2 separate regions of the Homo sapiens genome follow, and region 1 is linked to region 2. The links are contacts of gene promoters, found by promoter capture Hi-C in human tissues and cell types (Jung and others, 2019). All regions are on one chromosome and are shown on one strand. Each heading gives the region's core, a stretch centred on a gene start or on the middle of the fragment in contact. The rest is flanking DNA. Distances are from core to core; before and after follow the strand shown. Region 1 holds the start of TYROBP (transmembrane immune signaling adaptor TYROBP). Region 2 holds the start of CD22 (CD22 molecule).

Region 1 (6,933 bases), core at 2,008-4,507, 580 kb before region 2:
CCAGACCTGCCACCTGTGGTCTGCATCAGCACAGTTGTATTGGTTGCTAAAATGTTGAAACATTCCACTTCTGGTTAGTAAAGAGCCCACATAGCCCACAGATGTCTGCTACCACCCGAGTCCATTCTTTGGGGACCCCTTGGACTTTCCCACATCTCAGCAACTAAAGGTGGCGCTCTAGGACCCTGATTCCAGCCCCTATGGCCACATCCGTATGACTGGATGGTGCTTGGGGAATATCTTCTGGGGACAGCCCAGGCCTGGCTGAAGTGGGGAGGATGAGACTAGGAGGCTGATGCTGAAGGACTGAGGGAGGATTTTTTTTTTTTTTCTGAGTCAAAGTCTCACTCTTGTCATCCAGGCTGGAGTGCAATGGCATGATCTTGGCTCACTGCAACCTCTGCCTCCCAGGTTCAAGCGATTCTCCTGCCTCAGCCTCCCAAGTAGCTGGTATTACAGGCGCCTGCCACCATGTCTGGCTAGTTTTTGTATTTTTAGTAGAGACAGGGTTTCACCATGTTGGCCAGGCTGGTCTCAAACTCCTGACCTCAGGTGATCCACCCTCCTTGGCCTCCTAAAGTCCCAAAATCCAAAATCACGCCTGGGATTACAGGTGTGAGCCACTGCACCTGGCTGAGGGAGGATTTTTATCAAGCTAAGCTGAGAACTCGAGACTGGACATACTAATTTTTAGCATGGAACATATCCAAGTCACACGGTACCGAAGTATGTTCGCAGCAGTGAATCCATAGGGGTCTGCAGCAACCTCAATCCTTGCCTCCTCAAAAAAGAATTTGACCAAGGGACATAAGGCAGAGTGAGAAACCAAGGTAAGTTTTAGAGCAGGAGTGAAAGTTTATTATTATTATTATTATTATTATTATTATTATTATTATTATTATTATTTTGAGACTGAGTTTCGCTTTTGTTGCCCAGGCTGGAGTGCAATGGCGCAATCTCTGCTCACTGCAACCTCTGCCTCCTGGGTTCAAGCGATTCTCCTGCCTCAGGCTCCTGAGTAGCTGGAATTACAGGCACGCGCCACCACGCCAGGCTAATTTTGTATTTTTTAGTAAAGACCGAGTTTCTCCATATTGGTCAGGCTGGTCTCGAACTGCCGACCTCAGGGGATCCGCCCACCTCGGTCTTCCAAAGTGTTGGATTACAGGCGTGATCCACCGCGCTTGGCCCTTTATTATTATTATCATTATTTTGAGACAGAGTCTTGCTGTGTCGCCCAGGCTGGAGTGCAGTGGCGCGATCTCAGCTCACTGTAACCTCCACCTTCCAGGTTCAAGGTATTGTCTTGCCTCAGCCTTCTGAGTAGCTGGGACTACAGGTGCCCACCACCATGCCCAGGTAATTTTTTGTATTTTTAGTAGAGACCGGGTTTCACCATGTTGGCCAGGATGGTCTCGATCTCCTGACCTCGTGATCCGCCCGCCTCAGCCTCCCAAAGTGCTGGGATTACAGGCATAAGCCACCGTGCCCAGCCTAATTTTTAGTAGAGATGGGGTTTCACCATGCTGGCCGGGCTGGTCTTGAACTCAACCAGGCATTATTCTAATAGACCTCACAATATCCTCACAAATATCCCAGCAGCCTGGCCTCCCTGCTCCAGTCCCTGCCTCCACAGTCTGCTCCCCACCTGCGGCCGGAGGGAACCTGTGAACCCCTGAGTCAGGTCAGGGCCCTCCTGGCTCAGAGCCCTGCTCTGGTCTCTGACTGCCCCCTCGCCCACTCTGCTCCAACACATTGGGTGGCCTGGTGTGCCCGGGAGGACCTACAGGGTCTGTTCCCTCCATGCTCGCTCTAGACACAATGGGAGAGGCTTGGGTTTTTAAGGGAGGGGACTCAGCCAGGCCTGAACAGTGGTGACCGTGGGCTGAGCTGGGACCTGACCCTCCTCCAGGCTCCAAATCTCCTCTCCTCCCTTCCCCCACAGGCCACTGGGCATCTGCCCTGTGACCAGAATCCAGTTTCCCCTTTTTTCTCCTAAGCCCAGGCCCAAGGAGCGGTGGGTGTGACGTGTGGATGGGGGAGGGGGGCTTCCTGCAGCTGTCTCATCCTCCAGCACCCTAACCTCAGGTTCCTCCTTCCCCAGCCCCAGGCTCCAGCTGGGGGCTAGAAGTCCCCGTCTCCTTGGGGTGGCCTCCCTTGGGCCTTGCTCCCAGCCACTTCCTCATTCAGCAGGAGAGCCAGCCACCTGCCTCTCCCCAAGCCGCCAGCCGTGCCTCTGTGTCTGTGCCACTGCCTTACTCTCACCTTTCTCAGCTTTGCCGCTGTTTTCTCCTTCCCCATCTTTCATCTTTGTTTTTCCCCCTGACTCTTCCCTAGTCAAAAACCTGATTTTGGGTCTTGGGTTCCATTTCCACCTTGATTTGCTGTGCAGCCTTAGGCAAGCGTCTCTACCTCTCTGAACAATGGGGATGATAAGAGCATGTGCCCTAGAAGGGCATTGCGGGGACTGAATGATTTAACGCTTGGGACAGAGTGCCTGCATGTCATTAGTGCCCACATGCTGCTGGCTCTTTTAATATCCTTTAAACAGCACAAGTTTCTGATGATTAAATAATCATCATCATAGCTGATGCTTTTAAAAAGCTGACAAGGGTCAGACCCTGGTCTAGGAACTTTAATTCATTTAATCCCCACAACTCTAAAAAGTAGGTCCCATTTTACTCCCAATTTTACAGATGAAGAAACTGAGGTTGGAGCTGGGTGCGGTGGCTCACACTTGCAATCCTAGCACTTCGGGAGGCCAAGGTGGGTGGATCACCTGAGGTCAGGAGTTTGAGACCAGCTGGCCAACATGGTGAAACCCTGTCTCTACTAAAAAAAAAAGAAAAAAAAATACAAAAAATTAGCCGGGCATGGTGGCAGGCGCCTATAATCCCAGCTACTTGGGAGGCTGAGGCAGGAGAATCACTTGAACCCGGGAGGCAGAGGTTGCAGTGAGCCGAGACCGTGCCATTGCACTCAAGGTTGACCAGCCAGGAAGAGGCAGAGCTGGTTTCAATCAGCCAGAGGAAGGTCATGACACTGACCCTCCTGTTAAAACGATGTCTGACCCCTGACTGGGGACGGAGGTGAAGTTTGTGCTTCACGTACCCTTTGCCCTTCACGTCTAGTTGCTGGGGGCCTGTGGCATGGCCCCTGGGTGTCTGGGCCTGATTCTTTCTTGGGTTTTGTTTCTGTCTCTCCTCCCCTGTCTCCTCCTCCCTTCTGCCACCACCCGCCTCAGACTTCCTCCTTCACTTGCCTGGACGCTGCGCCACATCCCACCGGCCCTTACACTGTGGTGTCCAGCAGCATCCGGCTTCATGGGGGGACTTGAACCCTGCAGCAGGCTCCTGCTCCTGCCTCTCCTGCTGGCTGTAAGTGGTGAGTTAGGGGCTTCCGTGGCTGCCTCCCGGGTCCCTGGGCTCAGCTTGGGGCAGGGCAGGGAGTGGGGTGGAACGAGAGAACCAAAAGTGGGTGTTGGGATGGGAGCAGGTCCCCAACCTCCCAAAGCCTGTGGGTTTCTCCCAGAGCCCAAGCCCCCAAGTTTTGTCGTCCGCTACAAGCAGGGGAGAAGAGACATCTAAGTGTGTTGCCACAGGACAAGTTGTGCAGAAGTAACGCACATAGTCCGGTGGCCCAGACGCCAGCCCCCTGAGTCCCGCCAGACACGCTCTCCCCCTTGCTAACCTCTTGGCTGTCAGGATCCACCTTCCCTGGCTTCTAAACTTGCCTCCCCCACCCCCGTCATAACTCTGTGCCTCAGTTTACCTTCTTTTTCCTCCTCAGGTCTCCGTCCTGTCCAGGCCCAGGCCCAGAGCGGTAGGCCTAGACCCAGCAGTCCCTCTCTCTACCTCCCAGAGACCTCCCTGTCTCCGTCTCTCCCACACCCTTTCCAAACCTCCCTGCCGCTGACCCCCCTCCCCACAGTTCCCAGCACACACTGACCTCCCCTGACCCCTGTGCTGCAGATTGCAGTTGCTCTACGGTGAGCCCGGGCGTGCTGGCAGGGATCGTGATGGGAGACCTGGTGCTGACAGTGCTCATTGCCCTGGCCGTGTACTTCCTGGGCCGGCTGGTCCCTCGGGGGCGAGGGGCTGCGGAGGGTGAGTGGGGCTAGCAGGGGACATCCTGAGGACTTGCCTAGATGGGGGTGGGGGGCTGGGTAAACTCCCAGATCTCAAACATCCAAAGGGATGGTAATGGAGGTGCTGATTTGGAATGACAAAACACCCTCAACTCACCACTCTGCCTGTCTCTGCACCCCACAACACCCCTCACCTCCAGCAGCGACCCGGAAACAGCGTATCACTGAGACCGAGTCGCCTTATCAGGTGAGAAAACCAGACTGTCCTCCTCACATTTCACTCCTGCCAGGGATATCTGCCCCAGATACTCCTTCATGCCATCAGAGGGACCTCAAAGCCACTCTGCCTAAAGCACCCCCAAACCTTGAAGGCACATGGGACATCTGTCCAAAACTGGGCCGAATGATCAACCACAAGCTTATGGTCAGCTTAAAATGTGTGAAGAGGGGCTGGGCACGGTGACTCAAACCTGTAATCCCAGCACTTTGGGAGACAGAGGCGGGTGGATCACTTGAGGTCAGGAGTTCGAGACCAACATGGTGAAACCCTGTCTCTACTAAAAATACAAAATTAGCTGGGCGTGGTAACGCATGCCTGTAATCCCAGCTACTTGGGAGGCTGAGGCAGGAGAATCCTTTGACCCAGGAGGCGGAGGTTGCAGTGAGCCAAGATCACGCAATTGCACTCCAGCCTGGGCAACAAGAGGAAAACTCTGTCAAAAAAAAAAAAGCGTGAAGAGTTAAAAAGAAAAAAAAAAGGGTGGCTTTGCCTTTGTAAGTGTAAACACAGGCCTTGCCAGAAGTCAGGCCAGGAATTTTCTGGAAGAAACCCAGCCCTAGGACGACTGATTTCTGGGAGACGCTCTCAGTAGGGCAGAGAATGTCATTCAGCCCTACCTTGGTAACTCTAAAGAGAGGAGTCCTAGAATCTCTTTTTTGGGTTTGAGGACCCTTCATCCCTTTGAGAAACTAAGAAAATCTAGACTCCCAGAAAAATCTACACAAAAAATACAAAATTGTGCATATAATCTGAGAGCAGTGTAAATGTTCTTTATAATTAAAAAAAATTTTTTTTTGGCCAGGCATGGTGGCACACACCTGTAATCCCAGCACTTTGGGAGGCCAAGGTGGGTGGATCACGAGGTCAGGAGTTCAAGACCAGCCAGGCCAGGATGGTGAAACCCCATCTCTACTAAAAATACAAAAATTAGCTGGGCATGGTGTCATGCGCCTGTAATTCCAGCTTCTCAGGAGGCTGAGGCAAGAGAATCGCTTGAACCCAGGGGGCGGAGGTTGCAGTGAGCCTGGGCGACAGAGTGAGACTCCATCTCAAAAAAAAAAAAAAGACAGGGGTCTCACTATGTTGCCCCAGCTGGTCTCAAACTCCCAGTCTCAAGTGATCCTCCCGCCTCAGCCTCCGAAAATCTTGGGATTACAGGCTCAAGCAACCATGCTGGTTGAGTATTCTTGAAGCTCTTTTTTCTTTCTCTACTTTAATTTTTTTTTTTTTTTGAGATGGAGTCTCATTCTGTCACCCAGGCTGGAGTGCAATGGTGTGGTCTCAGCTCACTGCAACCTCCACCTCCCAGGTTCAAGCGATTCTCTTGCCTGAGCCTCCCGAGTAGCTGGAACTACAGGTGCATGCCACCACACCCGGCTAATTTTTGTATTTTTAGTAGAGATGGGGTTTCACTATGTTGGCCAGGCTGGTCTCAATCTCCTGACCTCGTGATCCGCCCACCTTTCCCTCCCAAAGTGCTGGGATTAGAGGTGTGAGCCACCGCGCCCGGCCTTAATTTTTTTTTTTTTTTTAAAGTAGAGATAGGTTCTCACTATGTTGCCCAGGCTGGTCTCAAACTCCTGGGCTCAAGAGATCCTGTTACCTCGGTCTCCCAAAGTGCTGGGATTATAGGCATGAGTCACCATGCCTGGCTGAAGCTCTTTTTAAAAACTATAGAGTATACAAGAGAATCTAGTCATCTATCCCCCTCTCTGTCAATGTTCCTTTTTAACCCTTTAGGGGGTCATGAGATTCTCTAAGACCTCTCCCCTGAAGAATGCACGCCCAGACTAGTCATCATATATGATTTTAGGGTTTCTGTCTGAGGCCTGCCCCTGGGGGCCACATAGATCCTCCCCCTACCCCAAGTGTGAACACTGCTGTGTGAAGTCTGATATATTGTCTGCAACCAGCTTTGCCTATTCACCTCACTTGTGGATAAAGTTTCTTTGTGAAGTCTAAGAATCTCAGGTTTGGCTCTGTGATATCCAGAAGACCGAGGGGCCCTTCCAGTTACTGGTGGCAGTGAAATTTTAGGGCAAAGCATTACCCGGATGTATTTATTCCCTCTGTGGATGTGTCTAGCACCTATAAGTGCTAAATGCTGGGGACACAGTGACAGAGTTTATATCCTAGTTAAGACAAACTTAAAGCAAATGAACAAATAAAATAATTTTGGGAGGCACAGTAAAGGAAATAAACAGGCTTTTTTTTTTTTTTTTACAGTGGCTGGAGTGTGGGGGGAAGAAACTACAGAGGGGAAATTGAGAAATGCCTCTCTGAGGAGGTGACGTGAGCTGAGACTTGAAGGGAGAGGGGATCTAGGGGAACAGAGTTTTAGGCAGAGGAAACAGCACACGCAGGGACCCTGAGGCTGGGGCACACTGATGAGGCAGAGGAGAAGGGGGAACATTGAATGTACTTGAATAAAATCCGGATCTCTTTCATGGCTATAAGGCTGAAGAAGCTGCCAGGGGCCTTGCAGGCCACTGGGAGAAGGCTGGATTTTATTTGGTGGGTCCCTTCCACTGATGGCCCCCATTCCTTTAGGAGCTCCAGGGTCAGA
Region 2 (7,204 bases), core at 1-2,500:
GGTACTCATCATGTCACATGCAAAAAACATCTTCAAGGTCACATACACTTGAGAAAGGCAGGGTAAAAGAGTTAAGTAAGATTCTTTTTTTTTCTTTTGAGACAGAGTCTCATTCTTCTGTCGCCCAGGCTGAAGTGCAGTGGTGTGATCTCAGTTCACTGCATCCTCTGCCTCCAGGGTTCAAGTGATTCTCCTGCCTCAGCCTCCTGAGTAGCTGGGACTATAGGCATGTGCCACCACACCCGTCTGATTTGTTTGTTTGTTTGTTTGTTTTAGTAGAGATGGGGTTTCACCATGTTGGCCAGGCTGGTTTCAAACTCCTGACCTCAGGTGATCCCCCCAACTTGGCCTCCCAAAGTGCTGAGATGACAGGCGTGAGCCACCGCACCTGGCTTAAGTAAGATTCTTTACTGCAGGACTTTAAAAACCTTTCAGTAAACTCTATCTACACCATTAATCTCTAGACATGGGGATTAGAGTATAGTATAATACATTGTCCATACTTCTTTGGCCATGGGATCTATTTTACATGTTCCATAAAAAACTTAGCAGGGTTGCAGAGCCAGAGTTCTTTGAAATCCCCTTAAGGTTACCTAAGGGGTAACAAGGGCTGTGGCAAGGACTAGACTCCGTTCCCTGCAGCCAACACTTGCCTCCAGGAGCCGGGCCATTGTCCCTCCTCTGCCAGCACCCTCCAGCCACAACCTGCTCTGGGACGGGCTGGAGCATCCCAGCATGAGTGGGAGATGGGCGCCTCCAGAGCAGGACTGTGTGCTGCCTCAAGGAGCTCCAGGAGTCTCTGGAGCACAGGAGTAGGGCCCCAGGCCCGGGAATTGGAAGGCTGAGGGTGGGGTGGAGGTTAGGGACAGCAGTTATTATGCACAGAGGCTCAGGACAGGGCCATGCTGTCCAGACCTCCTCAGTCCAGGCCTGTTGAGGGCCTTGCAGAACCTTGGGGCTGACCTCCCTGGCTCCTTCTTCCCTCCTGGGCATCCAATAACCTACCCTACTCTCAGAAGACTCAGCAGGCCTGGCAAGGAGGATGCTCAAGACAGGGGTCTGTCTACAACCTGTTGTAACACCGGTAAGAGAGAGCCAGGGAGGTCCCCACTGTGTTCCCAGCTCTGGGAGGTATGCCTGGCCCATAACTGCTGTTCCGTAATAACTTGCTTGTTGAATGCAAAATAAAAGCAAAATGATTTTTACCTGTTTCCGCGTGTCTTCCCTCTTCAGGGACCCTGGCAGCATCTGAGAGCAAAAGGAGAAGTACAGTAAAGTCTCTGGTGACAGAGGTTTCCCCTCCATGGCCACACCCCCTGCTTCTCTATGGCTCTGAGGGGGACCAAGCAGCACCGTGATCTGGGGAGTGGGGAAAAGAGACGATTGAGGGGGATGCGGGCTCGGAGTCAGATTGGAAGACTCGAATACGTATGGGCAGTTCTTCCTTTCCGTGTATGGGTTTGCAATATCAGATCAGTTTCAGAATGGGCTCCTCCACAACTCCCCCTCTACCCAGCTCTCAGGAAATGCGAATGACTCAAGCCAAGCAGGAGAACTGCAGCCCGCTGAAAAAGGCACAGGCCTACCTGAAAGTATTTGTAGTTTAGTGACACCATCCAGTTATTACCATTTCCACTCTTTTCATCATAGGCATAAATGGTGGGGAATCTGACCACCTACACTGAAGCCCCCAAGGGTTGAGGGAGGAGCACATAGATATTGAGGAGGAAAAAGATATCTCGGCCGGGTGCGGTGGCTCATGCCTGGAATCCCAACACTTTGGGAGGCTGAGGCGGGTGGATCACTTGAGGTCAGGAATTCGAGACCAGCCTGGCGAACATGGTGAAATTCCGTCTCTACTAAAAATACAAAAAATTAGCTAAGTGTTTTGGCAGGCGCCTGTAGTCCCAGCTACTCAGGGGGCTGAGGCAGGAGAATCACTTGAGCCCAGGAGGCGGAGGCTGCAGTGAGAAGAGATCACACCACTGCAGTCCAGCCTGGGTGACAGAGTGAGACTCTGTCTCAAAAAAAAAAAAAGAAAGAAAGAAAGAAAGAAAGAAAAAGAAAAGATATCTTGTAGGACTGGGCATGGTGGCTCATGCCTGTAATCCTAGCGCTTTGGGTGGCCAAGGCGGGTGGATTGCCTGAGCTCAGGAGTTCAAGACCAGCTTGGGCAACATGGTAAAACCCCATCTCTACTAAAAAAAAAAAAAAAAAAAATCCAAAAATTAGCTGGGTGTGGTGGCGGGCGCCTGTGGTCCCAGCTACTCAGGAGGCTAAGGCAGGAGAATCACTTAAGCCCGAGAGGCTGAGGTTGCAGTGAGCAGATCGCGCTGTGGCACTCCAGCCTGGGTGACAGAGCCAGATCCTGTCTCAAAAAAACAAAAAAGATATCTTGTAGGAAGTGTTATTGAATGGAGAGTCTTTAGGCTGAAACCTCATCACCTTTATAATCCTGTAGCCAGCGAGTGTCTCAGGAGCAGAACAGACAGCATTGGAAGCCATGCACATCCTACAGATGAAGAGGGATGCGCTGAGAGGTCTTCACTCCAGCACCACTGCCCTCTATGGGCAGCTGGCCATAGGGAGGGAAACAGAGAGAGGGAAGAACACCTTCTTCCAAAAGCACCGATAGGGCTGGGTGTGGTGACTTATGCCTGTAATACGCTTTGGGAGAGCAAGGCAAGAGGATTGCTTAAGGCCAGAAGTTTGAGACCAACCTGAACAACACAGCAAAACTCTGTGGGGCTAGTCAACAAAAGCAAAAAATGAAAAGTAGCTGGGCATGGTGGCCCATGCCTGTGGTCCAAACTACTTGGGAGGCTGAGGCAGGAGGATCGCTTGAGCCTGGGAGTTCAAGGCTTCAGTCAGCCATGATAGCACCACTGCACTCCAGCCCAGGCAACAAAGTAAGACCTTGTCTCAGTAAATAATAAATAAATAAAATGAACAAAAAGCAGTGATGTTCTGGAAAGATGGAGTAGATGTATTTATTTATTCTGCCAAGTATAACTGAAAACCTTGAACGTGACAAGACAAGCATAAGAAGACTGAAAGATGGAGAGAAGCAGACTGGTTAGGAACCTCGGGACTTAAGGAATGGTGGTGAATTCCCTGGGATTTCTCTTTGCCTCATATATCTCAGGCTGAATACTGGAGAAGCCAACAACTGAAAATGCCAAGGGGCACAAACAAGAAAAAGTCCCAACAGAACAAGTTCTAGCAAAACTATGCTTTTCTAGCCAAAGAACGAGGAAAGGGGCATCCTAGAAAGACAGAGCTCTTTTAGTCCATACCTGCTCCGCTCCATCCAAGTTCCATCATCACCCTTGTCAGCAAAGGCCGGATGGAAAACCTAGACATTCACCTTCACCAGGCTGTAACAAAGAACCCTAGGCCACTCCCATACTCAGCCAGAGTGATGCTAGAGTTGGAGCTGGGACATTCCTCCCCACTGGGATCACCCTCCCCCGATGTGGTGTTGGTGGAAACCATGTGGGCAGCCTGGACATCCACTGCCACCCCAATGCAGAAATGAGGCATTCCACCCGGCCCCATTGGAGTAGTGTCAAAGGGGGCCTGGTGGAGAGTTGGGACTTTCGCCACCACTCAGTGGTAACAAGCACCCCCCTCTCTCTGCCACACACAGTGTCAGTGAAAGCCACATAGGGAGCAGTAATGAAGCATCCCTCCCACTCCCAGCCAGGGAGTTGTCATGGATTCCTAGTGGGGAACCTGAACTTCTACCCTTACCAAACAATAACATGGAGGCCTCATCTCTCCCAACCCCCCAGGTTCAGGAAAGGCTGGATGGAGAACCTGGACTTTTATCCCTGTCTGGAAGCAATCAGGCAGTGCCCTACTTTATTTCGCTGGAGCAGTATAAAGGGAAGCCCACTAAAACAAAATATTTAAAGAAGATCCAGAATCTTATAACACAGTGCCCAGAATATCCTGACTTCAATGGCAAATCACTTGTCATACTAGGAATCAGGCATTCTCAAACTGAATAACAAAAGATAATTAACAGACACAAACATCAAGACGACACAGATGTTAGAATTATCTGACAAAGATTTTGGAGCAGCCATCATAAAAGTGTTTCACTGAGAAATTATAAATGTGCTTGAAACAAATAAAATAATAAAAAGTATCAGCAAAGAAATAGAAAATATAAAGAAGAACCAAATGGAAACTTTAGAACTAAAAAATACAACTAAAAAATACAAGAGCTGAAATAAAAACCATAATGGATGGGCTCAATAGCAGAATGGAGAGTATAGAAGAAAGAAGCAGTGAAACAAAACGTATAACAATAGAAATTACCCATTCTGAACAATGGAAAGAAAATAGATGAAAGAAAATGGAACAAAGCCTCAAGGACATGAGTAACTATAATAAAAGAAGATCTAACATTTTGTCATTGAAGTCCCAGAAGGGGAGGAAAAGGAGGGTGGGCCTTAAAAAAATATTCCAAGAAGTAATGGCTGCAAATTATCTTCATTTGACAACACACACGCACAACATATGTCTACAGATTCAAGAAGCTGAGCGCATCACAAACAGGATAAACCCAAAGAAATTCATGCCAAGACACATCATAGTCAAACTTCTAAAAACAAGAGGCAGAGAAAATTCTCGAAAGCAACCACATAAAAATGCAAAAAATTAGCCAGTTGGGTGGTGCGTGCCTGTAGTCCCAGCTACTCAGGAGGCCAAGGCAGGAGGATCACTTGAACCTGGGAGGCGGAGGTTGCAGTGAGCTGAGATCCTGCCACTGCACTCCAGCCTGGGCAACAGAGCGAAACTCTGTCTTAATTAAAAAGTAAAATAAAATAAAAACAAAAAACCTCTGGAAGATAACATAGGAGAAAATCTGTGAGACTTAGAGCTTGATGAAGTGTTCTTAGACATGACACCAAAGGCATGATCCCTAAAAAAATCAATCCAACTTCATCAAAATTAATTTTTTTTTGCTCTGTAAAAGACCTAGTTAAGAGAATGAAAAGACAAATTACAGACTAAGAGAAAATATTTGCAAACCACATATCTGACAAAGGACTCCTATCTAGAACAAATATATAAAGAACTCTCAAATTCAACATAGAAACACTACATAAAAAAATCAAATCATCCAATTAGAAGACTGGCAAAAGATATAAAGAGAAATTTCACCCAAGGGGATATATGGATAGAAAATAATTATCTAAAAAGATATTCAACATCACTAGCCTTTAGACAGGTTAAGACCATGATGAGATATCACTACTAACATCTATAAGAACAGCTAAAATAAAAGATAGTATCAAATACTGGAAAGATGTATGGAAACTAAATCATTTATATATTGCTAGTGTGAATATAAAATTGTCCAGCCACTCTGGAAAAAAGTCTCAAAACAGTTCCTCCAAAGATTAAGCATAGAATTACCATACACTCCTGCATCTCCACTCTTACATATATAACCAAGAGAAATAAGAACATGTTCACCCAGAAACTTGAACACAAATGTTTACAGCAGCATTATTCATGAAAGCCAAAAAGCAGAAACAACCCACATGTCCATGAAGAGATGAATGAATAAAGAAAATATGGGAGACCTAAACAATAAAATATTATTTGATAATAAAAAGGAATGAAGTACTGATAGATACTACAACATGGATGAACTTTTTTTCGAGACCGAGTTTCACTTGTTGCCCAGGCTGGAGTGCAGTGGTGCCATCTCGGCTCACTGCAACCTCTGCCTCCCAGGTTCAAGCGATTCTCCTGCCTCAACCTTCTGAGTGACTGGGATTACAGGCATCCGCCACCACGCCCAGCTAATTATTCATATTGTTAGTAGAGACGGGGTTTTACCATGTTGGCCAGACTGGTCCTGAACTCCTGACCTCAGGTGATCCACCCGCCTTGGCCTCCCAAAGTGCTGGGATTACAGGCGTGAGCCACGGCGCCTGGATATGGATGAACTTTGAAAACATTAAGTGAAAGAAGCCAATCACAAAATGTCACATATTGTATGATTCCATTCACGTGAAATATTCAGAAAAGGCAAATCTGTAGAGACAGAAGTAGATGTAGCGGTTGCGTAGGGCTGGGGTGGGGTGGGAAAGGTAAGAGGAAATGAAGAGTGACTGCTAATGGATGTGAGATTATTTTGGGGTGATGAAATGTTCTAAAACTGGTTGTGGTGATGGTTGCATAATTCAGTGAATAGACCCAAAACCATTCAATTGGACATTTTACATGGGTGTGTTTTATGGTATGTGAATTATATCTCAGCAAAGCTGTTATATATGTAGTATATATGTAATATATAACAGCTTTACATACAGCTTTAACACACATATGTGTGCATATATGTGTGTGTATGTATATTGTGTGTGTGTGTGTACATATATATATATATAAAATAAAAATCAGGCTGGGCACGATGGCTCACACCTGTAATCCCAGCACTTTGGGAAGCAAAGTGGATCACCTGAGGTCAGGAGTTCAAGACCAGCCTGGCCAACATGGCAAAACCCCATCTCTACTAAAAATACAAAAATTAGCAGGCATGGTGGTGTGCGCCTATAATCCCAGCTGCTCAGGAAGCTGAGGCAGGAGAGTCACCTGAGCCCAGGAGGCGGAGGTTGCAGTGAGCTGAGATCCCACCACTGCACTCCAGCCTGGGCGACAGAGTGAGACTCTGTCTCTAAATAAATAAATAAATAAATAAATAAATAAATAAATAAATAAAAAACAGTCCAGTTAGAAAATAGGCAAAAGACATGATGACACCTTTCCCTGAAGAAGGTATATAGAAGGCAAATAAGCACATGAAAAGATGTCTCACATCACCAGCCATTAGTGAAATGCAAATTGAAACCCATGACAAGATACCGCTTTAGAACAGCTAAAATTAAATAACCAATAATGACAACACCAAACACTGGTGAGGATGCTGTGAACTTGAAACATTCACACACGACTGGTGGGGATGCAAAGTGGTCCAGCTACTCTGGAAAACAGTTTGCCGGTTTCCTGAAAAACTAAACAAAATATACCTACCAGATGACCCAGCAATTGCACTCCTGGGCATTTTATCCCTAAGAAATGAAAACGTATGTCCACATAAAAACCTGCACACAATTATTCACAGCAGCTTTGTTTGTAATAGCCAAAAACTGGAAACAGGCCAGGCACGGTGGCTCACGCCTGT

The links. Contacts are between HindIII fragments. The study calls those that stand out against the background at their distance.
Region 1: a contact is called between the fragment with the promoter of TYROBP here and the fragment with the promoter of CD22 in region 2, in 1 of the 25 tissues and cell types used here (liver).

The regions. Positions count from the first base shown.
Region 1 is chr19:35,904,619-35,911,551 of GRCh38, reverse strand. It overlaps TYROBP (transmembrane immune signaling adaptor TYROBP), which reads left to right and starts at 3,257. Exons shown (of 5, transcript NM_003332.4): 1 at 3,257-3,384; 2 at 3,790-3,822; 3 at 3,972-4,106; 4 at 4,288-4,334; 5 at 6,918-6,933. The coding sequence starts at 3,324. RefSeq lists enhancers at 1,741-1,850, 1,951-2,000, 2,151-2,280 and a silencer at 4,092-4,245. The HindIII fragment of the contact is 6,909 bases long and covers 1-5,983 here.
Region 2 is chr19:35,323,233-35,330,436 of GRCh38, reverse strand. It overlaps CD22 (CD22 molecule), which reads right to left and starts at 1,250. Exons shown (of 14, transcript NM_001771.4): 1 at 1,207-1,250. RefSeq lists enhancers at 504-553, 624-673 and a silencer at 6,929-6,988. The HindIII fragment of the contact is 23,810 bases long and covers 1-7,204 here.